2 separate regions of the Homo sapiens genome follow, and region 1 is linked to region 2. Evidence: promoter capture Hi-C in 16 types of primary human blood cells and fetal thymus (Javierre and others, 2016). All regions are on one chromosome and are shown on one strand. The core of a region is centred on a gene start or on the middle of the fragment in contact, and the rest is flanking DNA. Distances in the headings are between cores, read along the strand shown.

Region 1 (5,276 bases), core at 2,494-4,993, 180 kb after region 2:
TTGAAAGGGAGAGAGGCTCTGTCTACCAAGCATCTACCATGTGCCAGGCAGGACCTCATGGCCTCTTCACAGCCACTCCCACAGGCAGGGACCCCAATCTGTGTTCCACCCAAGAGGAAGCAGGGTCTGTGAGGGGTGGTGACTTGCCCACACTCACACGTCTGCCAAAAGCCCTGCCAAGATTTGAACCTGGGTCCCAAGTCCAGCTTCCTGCCCTGGTGGAGCTAGCACAGGCAGTCATTACACACCTGTTTCCTCATCTACAGAGTGGAAACATAGCAGTACCCACCTCACAGGGCAGCTGTGAGGCTTAAATGAGTTAAGCCACATAAAGTACTTAGCTCAAGGCCTGGCAAACAGCGAGTGCTTAGTAACTGTAAGCTATTATCATTATGATCGAATCCAGGAACAAATAAGAATGAGCACATTCAACTGCAATCTATGATAAACAAATAGAGGGTGTTTGTGGATGAACAGGAGGATGGATGGACGGCTGGCTGGCTGGGTGGGTGGGGGGATGGATGGATGATGGATGGGTGGGTGGGTGAGTGGATGGGTGGGTGAGTGAGTGGATGGATGAATAGATGGATGGACGGGTGGGTAGGTGAGTGGATAGGTGGATGGATGAATGGGTGAGTGGATGGATGGGTGAGTGGATGGATGGGTGGGTGGGGGGGGTGAGTGAATGGACAAATGGATGGATGGATGGGTGGGTGTGTGGGGTGGGTGAATGGATGGACAGATGGATGGATAAATGGATGGGTGGGCAGATGGTTGCAGAGCAAGCAATGGAGCAGACTTATAACTTAAGAAATGGAGAACTGACAAAGGAATGAAAGAATACATGAATAAACGCATGGAGAAACTGCGGAACACGAGAGCGCGTGGGAGGGGGATTGCACACCCGAAGTTTGGGAAAATGGGAGCCGAATTGGGGAACTTGGGCCCAGGGCACGCGCCCCCGCTCACCTGTAGCGTTGCAGCTCCGCCTCCAGCCGCCGCACCCAGCGCTGCAAGCCGGGCACCTGTTGCGCCAGCGCCTCCAGCTCTCGCACGCGGTGCAGGCTGCGCAGCACCACCTGCCGGGCCTCCTCCGCGCGCCGCCGCACCTCGGCCTGGCCACGGCGCAGCCGCCCAGCGCGGGCCTCCGCCGCAGCCAGGGCGCCCTGCGCCTGACGCAGCTCCCGCACCGCAGCCTCCGGCCCGCCGTGCCCCATCTCGTGGGTGCTCGCCTGGCTCTTCCAGAGTCCGACCTGCGGGGACAGGGCAGCAGGGGCAGGGGGTAAGTGCCCCAGCCAGATGCACCAGACGAACGCCCGCCACGACGGCGGCCCCATGCCTCTGCACCCAGAAGCGCTTGAGCACGTTTCTTGCGCCGTCTGCTTCCGGGTGCCAGGCCCTTAGGTCCGGTGCGTCCAAGCTCCTTTAACCCTCGCCACATCCCCAGGGAGGCCCAAGCTCTGATTCCTCCTCATCCCCCACCCCCCAACGTTTTTTCACTGAAGGAAACTGAGACACGACGCCTGTATTCTGTTCCCTCTATAGTACCAACCTCGCGACTCTTCTCGGCCTACTGTATTGGCGGCGTTCAGCCTGCCGGGTGGCGGTTCCTCATCTCCTAGACTCCCCCCAGTGGCATTTCCAGCCCTCCCCGTGCCTGCTCACTAGAGGCTTTTGAGGGTGGTTTCTATCTGTCTTTACTGGTGTGTTCCCAGAGCCTAAAACAAACCTGGCACATAGTAGGTGCTCAATAAATACCAAGCATGAGAGATGCCGGAAGACCGTTCAGGCGCATCCCATGGCTCCCAGTACGTTACTTGGGATTCCACATCAGAGGAGTAGTTTCCCGCCTCCACCCTGGCTTCCATGCACACTGACACTGAAAACCACACCTTGCCACTTCCCTGCACTCTGCAGTGTCCTGAGCTAAGGCGGGGTCATATAATGTCAGTTTCTTCCTGGCCTGTTGTCGCCTGGGGTAGGGGCTGTTCCTTTCCTCCTCTGACCCCTGCGGCCCAGCACTGCCCTTGGTGCTCGGCTGGCACAGTGCTTAAGTGTTTGTCGACGGCTCCCAGATGCTAAGGCTGGGTCCCTATCTCACCCCATGGTTTCTTCTCAATAGCCCAGAGCGGGTCTGGTTCCCGCAGGCACTTGGTGGCCCGTGAGTGCCTGATCCACAGTGTGAGCCACATTGTCTGTTTCTCACTTGTCTCTGTTTCTCCCACAGGGAGCCCCATAAGTCTTTGCTGATTGACAGAAGGAGCTGTCAGTCTACCCCAGGAGGCAGGGATATCCCTAAAGGTGAGGACAGGGCCTTCTTCACACTTCTGTCTCCTAAACCTCCCAGAAGCCTGGCAGGAAGGAGAGAGAAAGATGCTTGTTGAAAGGGAATATGTGAGACTACCCAGACAGGTGCAATTCCTAGGTTAAAGGGGCAAGACGCGATGATGTGGCGGTGGAGCAGAAAAGTGGGGTATGGTTGTTTGAGTGTGATTGGGGTTTTCAGGAATGGAATAGGTGGTAAGAATAGGGTTGGGGACTGGAGTGGAATGGGGAGGAACAGGGGCAAGATGCAAGTGTGCTGATGCGGAGTGGGATGGTGTGGGGCTGCCCTCTGTCTCCCCTTCCTCTGACTCTGTCCTGTCGGGCTCCGCAGCCAGCCAGCTTTTAGTTCGAGCCCTCTCCCGGGCGTTACCACCCTCCCTTCGTGGCCGGCGCGCACCTGCAGTGCTAGGCAGCGCGCATCACTGCTCTGCAGCGCGGCGCGCAGGTCCTCCACCAACTCGCGCAAGCTGCTATTCTCCTCCTCCAGCCGCGCAACGCGCTCACAGTCAGGACCGCTGTCGGGGCCAGGCGCGCAGGGCGGGCGGCGGCGGCGGCGCGGACGGCGCAGGCGGATCTGCGTCTCGATGTGCTCGCTGAGAGCGCCGCGGGGCAGCCGGGGCCCCGCACGGGTGCCGAAGTAGCCACAGAGGCGCGCGTGGAACTGGCGGAAGGTGAGCTCCGGCGGCTCGGCGCGCAGCGCCAGGCGCGCCTCTTCATCGGTATCTGAGTCCCCGTCCGTGGCCAACTCAGCGGCCGCATCCCCGGGGGTCACATCTCTGGAGTTCCCGTCACCTGCTGCCTGCCCGGCCGTGGTGGCCCCCTCCGCGCGCAGCCCCAGCACAGCGCAGAGCGCTCGGAAGTCGGCGCGGGGCAGACGGCCGGCGCCGCGGCAGTCCAGGTGGTGGAAGACCTCCTGCAGGTACTGGTCCAGGCCGGTGGCCAGCACCACGATCTCGTTCTCCACGCCGCGGTCCAGCCCGTAGTGGTGCGCCAGGGCGCTCAGCAGCCACTGCGTGCGCCGCGCAGGTCGCCGGTACGGGTCACCTCCCGCGCCCTCCATGCCGGCCTCCGCGCCCGTGCTGACCGGCTCCATCGCTGCGCCGCGCGCCTCGCTCCTCCGGTCCCTCCTCCGGTCCCTTCGCCCCGCCACTTCCAGGGGCGGCCCCAGAGTTTCTCGAAAGGAGGGGCTTAGCGGTCGCGGTCTGGTTGGAGCGGCGCCGGGGACCGTGTCCAGCAGCTGCGCTGGCCTCACAGTGCGTCTGGTTTACCCCAGTTGCTTTGGAGGGGCCTGGGGTAGGGGGTCCAGGAACCCCCGGGACCCCGGCAGCGCCACCAGTGCCCGGTCGGCGTCTGGGTCTGGCTTCTCCGCGTGACTCCCACGCTCTCCTCTCCTCACTCACGGGGCGTTCCTGGCGTCTGCGCTTTTCCTCCCACTCCCGGCCGTCCACTCTCAACTCCCTCCTCCCTCCGCCCCGCCCGCCTGGCGCGGAGAGTTCGCTCCGAGACCTGGGCGAGGGGTTGGCGCGGGATCCGAAGCCCAGGAGGGCCTTGGGGGTGGCGGCCTCGTCCGGTTGCTGGGGATGTGCCCCCACACCCAAGCGTCACTCTTCCCCCTCTTCCCGGAAGGCCTTTCGAGGGTTGCCTGGCAAGCCTGCTCTCGCCGCCCTGTAGCCGTAGGTGCGGAAAAGCCTCCCCTCCGCTTCAATTCAGCTACTGGGTTTCCGAACCCACTTCTTGTGCCACCATAGACCGTGCAAAGAGCCCCAAGTAGTAACTGGGAAAGAGAGGGAAACAGGCTTGGAGAGGCAAGGGGTCTAGGTTAGGGGCACCCCGCTGGTGAGAAGCCCATCTGAGACGAGCCCTGTGCTAACTGCTCTCTCCCGATCCCTGTTGGGGGTGGGGATAGGACTCTCGGGAAAGTGGTGTCTCCCGGCCCTGCCACCTTTGTGCCTGCCGGTGCTGACTTGGCAATGGGATCCGAGTTCCATCTCTTGAGCTGGGGTTAGGTTAACAGGTCGATGATTGGCTGATGTTTTTTTCTGGTGTTTTAGAACACATTTCTGGAAGATGAAGAAAAACCTGCTTCTCTGGTGAGTGCTAGACTGTGTTCCCTTTCTTTTTCACGAGAGGGGTGCAGTGATATTGTGATATTGTCCACCTGTTACCTGCACCGGGAACGGTTATCCAGCCACGGTACCCAGCCATGTTGGAGCAAGAGGCAGACTCTTCAGCTGTTCCTAGCTATGACAGAGACAGAATCTTGCCTTGTGGATAACTCTGTGAGTTTAAATGTAAAATCTTGCCGTTTGAAAAGCGATAGCATTCTGTCTCCTCTGCCACAGTATCCCAGAATCAGCACGTTGTCCATTTGGCAAATTCGTACTTGTTCTTGAAGGCTTTGCCCAGAGTACATATCTGCTGGGAAGGAGTTAGAGGCTTCTCCCCAAGCATTTTGGACATATTCTTTTAGGTTTGTTTTTAATTATAAAAGTAATGGCAATTTGACAAAGTTTTTACATCACGTCCACTTCTTGGCTTCTACCTTCGAAAGCCACTGTGCACAGGATGTTCACTGCATCATTGTTTATTACAGTGAGAAACTGGAGACAACCTGGTGTCCATCAAATCAGCTAGGACTCAGCAAACGAGGATGAGCGGACACAGCAAGCCACAAGCTGATTATGCACAACACTGATGCTTACATAACAAGAACAAAAACACACAAAACAATACTAAGTATTTTCTACTAGGACATGTGTATGTGAGTGCACAGAAGAAGATGGAGGGATTCATAAGTGGATTCAGTGGTTCTTTCTGCAGATGGGAGACACTGCAGTATTTCCCTTTTGTTAAGATGTTCTCATGTGTTTCTTTTTCTTGGCCGGTCGCGGTGGCTCACGCCTGTAATCCCACCACTTTGGGAGGCCGAGGCGGGTGGATTGCCTGAGGTC
Region 2 (5,135 bases), core at 1,428-3,927:
CTGGCAGCTTATCTTTTGAGTGAGCTTTTTCCTATTTTCAAACATTTCTAGTAAAATAGGCATACCAAAGGGTATATCCAGGCAATACAAGCCATTGTAGTTAAATTCCACCATACACCTTTTCTGGCGCCTCACGATCAGCCTGGCTCTATTAATAATAGTCGTTACAGGAAGCTGCATGCCAGGTAGAAAGAGCCATTAGCTGTTACCACTCCACTGCCAAGAAGTAAAGACATTGTTTCCATTTCTTCTACTTAAGTCTTTTAAAACCTATAGAACATTATGTCCAGTATCTCTATCTCACACTCACTTTCATTTTCTATAGCTGTTGAAATTTTTGTTTTAATATTAGGAATATTCCATTCCTGGGTCTATAATGAATAGCAAACATTTTATACAGTACTATGGTTGGAATGGTAAACAAAAATAAGTCAGAAAATATTAATTTTTGGCCATATGGTAATTTTAACTTGTCCTCTTGGTGTGGTGTGGACGCACCCAGGTTGGACTTCATACATAGCCTCTTGCATTATATTGACTCATTGTCAGAGCTCACGAAGTCACTACCTAAGTGTCTGATTGCTACACTATACATTACTTCAAGATACTATGAAGGTTAATCAGATTACAAAGGGGAAATCATAAAGCTGAGTAAGCTTCTTGGTAATAAAACTATATAAATACAAAATACTGTTTTTTATTGGCAGATAATATATCGTGTTTTAGCACAACACATAAGCTGCTAGGCATTTATTCAATCTGATTGGGAATGGGTTAAATTTGGTTAAAAAATTTTACCTTAGGTTGCTTTAATTAAAAAAATGTTTAAGGCTGAGTGCAGTGGCTCACACCTGTAATCCTAGCACTTTGGGGGCACTGGGTGCAGTGGCTCACACCTGTAATCCTAGCACTTTGGCCTAGCACCGCTTGAGGCCAGGAGTTCAAGACCAGCCTGGCCAACATGATGAAACCCCATCTCTACTAAAAATACAAAAATTAGCCAGGCGTGGTGGTGGGCGCCTGCAGTCCCAGCTACTCAGGAGGCTGAGGCAGAATTGGTCAAACATGGGAAGCGGAGGTTGCAGTGAGCTGAGACAGCACTCCAGCCTGGGCAACAGAGGGAGACCCTGTCTCAAAAAATAGTAATAAATAAATTTAAAAAGTTCGGCCAGGCGCGGTGGCTCATGCCTGTAATCCCAGTGCTTTGGGAGGACGATCACCACTTTGGGTGGGCGGATCACCTGAGGTCGGGAGTTTGAGACCAGCCTGACCAACATGGAGAAACCCCGCCTATACTAAAAATACAAAATTAGCCGGGCGTGGTGGCGCATGCCTATAATCCCAGCTACTGGGGAGGCTGAGGCAGGAGAATCACTTGAATCCAGGAGGCGGAGGTTGCAGTGAGCTGAGATCGTGCCATTGCACTCCAGCCTGGGCAACGGAGTGAGACTCCGTTCTCAAAAAAAAAAAAAAGTTTAAAATATCATTGGTCTTTAAAGTTATACATTCATTCTTTGATAATTGCTATGTTGAACGCAACCTCCTAACTGCTTTACAATGATTAAGCACTAATGATTTGAACCCAGGTTTAAAGTCTGACTCTCAACACATGTGCTCTGCCTTCTCACGAACATGATTTCAAAAATCATAGCCCCGGGATTTGGGATTGGTGGCTTATGCCTGTAAACCCAGCGACAGAGCAAGACCCTACTCTTAAAAAAAAAAAAAATTAAAGAAAAAAAGAAAAATAAATCATAGTGTTGAACTGGCAGGTTTCACTGAGACGAAACTTGGGACTCTTCCTTTTTTTTTGTTTCGAATAAAGCCATTCTAGAATGAGACAAAATTCTAAAATATTTTATAGTTAACAGTTTAAATTGGGTTTAATCTTGACAAGACTATCTAGGGCTATATACACAAATCTCTTTTGGAGAAAATACCACAACTAAACTGAAGTCTATTCCTGAATATGACAGACCAGGTCAAATGGTTATCCTTGCCCTCCCGGGGGATGTCACTCATAAACGTGCCAAAAGTCACAGTCTAGGCCCCATTACCTTACATGCTCATGACCTTCCCAGGGAGGCCCCTCGCCCTTACCAGGCACTTTCATCTTGGGAAGACACATCAGTCCTGGCGGAGAAAGCAGCAAGGCCTTTCCCCGGCTCACAAAAATTAATACAAATCTCAGAGGCTGCATCCCACAGCCGTGACCACCGTGACTTGGCATCCCCTTTTCTGCAAACTTAAATGTTATCTAGAAATCGGGCCTGGCTCTGAAAGCCAAGGGCCTGGCAGGAGCCCGAGAAAGGGGAGAAACTTTCTGCGGCCCCAAGCTAATGGCAGTCACTGCACCGAGACCCGTCCCCTGGCATCCCTTTGCTCCAGCTGGCCAAGACAGACCACCAAGGTCAGCCAGATTTCCACCCAGTCTGGCCGGGCCCGGACCCAGCTGGGAATGAACCGAGAAGCACCGGGACCCGGATCCCGGCGTGAAAGGCCGCGCGCGGGGCACGGCGGGAAAAGACGCTGCGCGCAGAAACACCCGCCCCGCGCCGCGCTCTAGTGGGCGGCCCTGCCGCGGGCGGCTCTGATTGGACTGCCGAACCCCGCGCGCTGATTGGCCGCGTGGGCGAGGCGGAGGAGAGCCGTGCGCAGCGGCGTATGTGGGGCCGTGTGCAGACCCGCGTGTGGCGCAGGCAAGGACCCTCAAAATAAACAGCCTCTACCTTGCGAGCCGTCTTCCCCAGGCCTGCGTCCGAGTCTCCGCCGCTGCGGGCCCGCTCCGACGCGGAAGGTGAGGGCTGGGGGAGGGGCCCGGCGCTGACGGAGCCGCAGTGCGGGTCGGGTCTGTGGCGGACAGAGAGGGTAGGGAGCGGCGAGGTGGCGATGGCGGCCGCACTTTGGCCTGCGCCTCTGCTGCGTCAGGCGGGAAGCTCGGCTGCTGCCGCCGCCTCGGACCCGGGTTTCTGGCGCACCGCTGTCGGACGACACTTCTGTCCTTTCTTCGTCCTGGAAAGCTGGGTCGCCGAGCATGCGGGTCTTTCGGCGCCACGGCCGCACCCCAGGCCGCAGGCTTAGGGCAGAGGAGGCCCGCCCGTGCGCCCTTGGGGCCGAGGCCCTGACGCTTCGAGGGTCGCGGAATGAGGGACCGAGGGTGGATTTGGCGGGAACTCACTGGAAGGAGTCCGTGTGGTGGGGAAAGGCTCCCGGCTGCGGATGAAGGGGGGATGGGGTGGGTATAGTCGTGCAGGCCATGTGCTGGGGTCGTGCGCCTGGCGGGCCATGTGCCAAGGGTTTTGGGGGCCTTAGAAAAGGGTTCTTAGGCCGGGCGCGGTGGCTCACGCCTGTAATCCCAGCACTTTGAGAGTCCCAGGCGGGCGGATCACGAGGTCAGGAGTTCGAGACCAGCCTGACCAATATGGTGAAAGTTGGTCTGTACTAAAAATAAAAAATTAGCCGGGCATGGTGGCGGGCGCATGTAGTCCCAGCAGCTCGGGAGGCTGGACAGGAGAATCGCGTGAACCCCGGAGGCCGAGGTTGTGGTGAGCCGAGATCGCGCCACTACACTCCAGCATGGGCAACAGAGAGAGACTCCGTCTTAAAAAAACAAACAAACAAACAAACAAACAACAACAAAGGGTTCCTGAAGAAGCCTTTGTGTTTGGAGTGGCGAGACTGCTGGAAGACTTGGGAGCTTTTAGAGTTTATACTCCCTATCCTTGATAGTTTTCCGATTCTTGAATTTTTATCGTCATTTAAATACTAAGTTGCTTGTGTTACATTACCATTCCAAAAGGGGCTGATGGGGCTCACATTCCAAGAGTTAACACTATTTAAGTTGCTGGGATCCTTTAAAAGCGCCATTACCAGAAAAAACACGAATTTGTCAAACCTCCAAAACCACAGCAGCGGGCGGTAGTCTGCATCATTTCTTGGATTAATGAAACAGATGTAATTACAAACGAGACACGAAATTCAACTAGCTCCCCTCCATCTAGATTTTTCCATATCGTGAGAACCTGTTTTAGAATGGCATAATGGTCCACATTTGGGTTTAGGTGTTGATTTTATTATGGGTAAGGCTTGTGCTTGTTCCCACATGTTAACCATATGGCCTCAGCCACAGGGCACTTCCAAAGGAAGTGACTGTTTCTGGTCTTGGGGGTCTTGTAAAAAGAGAACATTGCTCAGTAATCGTCTGTGATTTTAGCTAGTGTGTTTCAGGCATTATTCAGAAGGACTCAGGTGAGATAAGCCAAAACTGAATTTGTTTTTTGTCTTTCTCAAAGTGAAGGAGGTCTAATGAATATCCCCATCTTGCTTTTAAATTACATTTTTAAAAGTAGATTTTTCCCCCTTTCCTATTGTTTGACCCAATTTTGGAGTGAAACGTAACCAGTTACTATTTCCATTCGAATTTAAATTAGCAATTTTATGTTATTTGTTTGTTCAAGCAGTATAACTGGAGTGTAGAGCTTTGAGGGTTTCAAAAAGATAAGAGATATAGTACTTATCTCCTGGGCTTCCCCCTCCCCCCTCCTAAATAGTTTTAAATGCTTCTAATGAGTTACTCTGGTTAAGGATAATCAAACACCTGTAAACTGCCAGGATCCTAGGTACATGCTGTTTTTAGTTTGTTGAGCCTGATTCTTGTCTACAAGAGTTCTTTGTGTATTGGAATATAAAAGGAATAATTTATTACATTCCCAAGGGCAGAATTAAAGACTTAAGTTTTTCCGATTTCATCTCTTGATAAGTTTTTCTTTAAAAAAATAACAGTTTGTGTTTTTCTGAGGAACCAAAGGTCCTCTTTTTTTTCATATTGGTAACAGGAGAGGTAATGTATTTCAGATGGTGCAGTCTGTAAAATATTTTGAACCAAATCAGTGGAAGACCAGGGGTTTTTCTTTTTTTTTTTCTGAGACGGAGTCTCACTCTGTCGCCCAAGCTGGAGTGCAGTGGCGCGATCTCGGCTCACTGCGACCTCCGCCTCCCGGATTAAGCGATTCTCCTGCCTCAGCCTCCGAAGTAGCTGGGATTACAGGCGCCCGCCGCCACACCCAGCTAGTTTTTGTATTTTAGTACAGACGGGGTTTCACCATGTTGGCCAGGCTGGTCTCGAACTCCTGACC

The links. Contacts are between HindIII fragments. The CHiCAGO score rates a contact against its expected background, and 5 or more counts as called.
Region 1: the fragment with the promoter of EFCC1 here is called in contact with the fragment with the promoter of CNBP in region 2 in 6 of 17 cell types (naive CD4 T cells, non-activated CD4 T cells, naive CD8 T cells and 3 more); the score reaches 7.6 in naive CD4 T cells.

The regions. Positions count from the first base shown.
Region 1 is chr3:128,999,771-129,005,046 of GRCh38, reverse strand. EFCC1 (EF-hand and coiled-coil domain containing 1) reads right to left here and starts at 3,743. Exons shown (of 8, transcript NM_001377500.1): 1 at 2,723-3,743; 2 at 970-1,253. The coding sequence starts at 3,418. It also overlaps a transcript of CFAP92 not described here. The HindIII fragment of the contact is 12,645 bases long and covers 1-5,276 here.
Region 2 is chr3:129,181,438-129,186,572 of GRCh38, reverse strand. CNBP (CCHC-type zinc finger nucleic acid binding protein) reads left to right here and starts at 2,677. Exons shown (of 5, transcript NM_003418.5): 1 at 2,677-2,797. It overlaps LOC105374101 (a long non-coding RNA gene), which reads right to left and starts at 2,499. Exons shown (of 2, transcript XR_924469.3): 1 at 2,101-2,499. RefSeq lists an enhancer at 2,254-2,343. The HindIII fragment of the contact is 13,108 bases long and covers 659-5,135 here.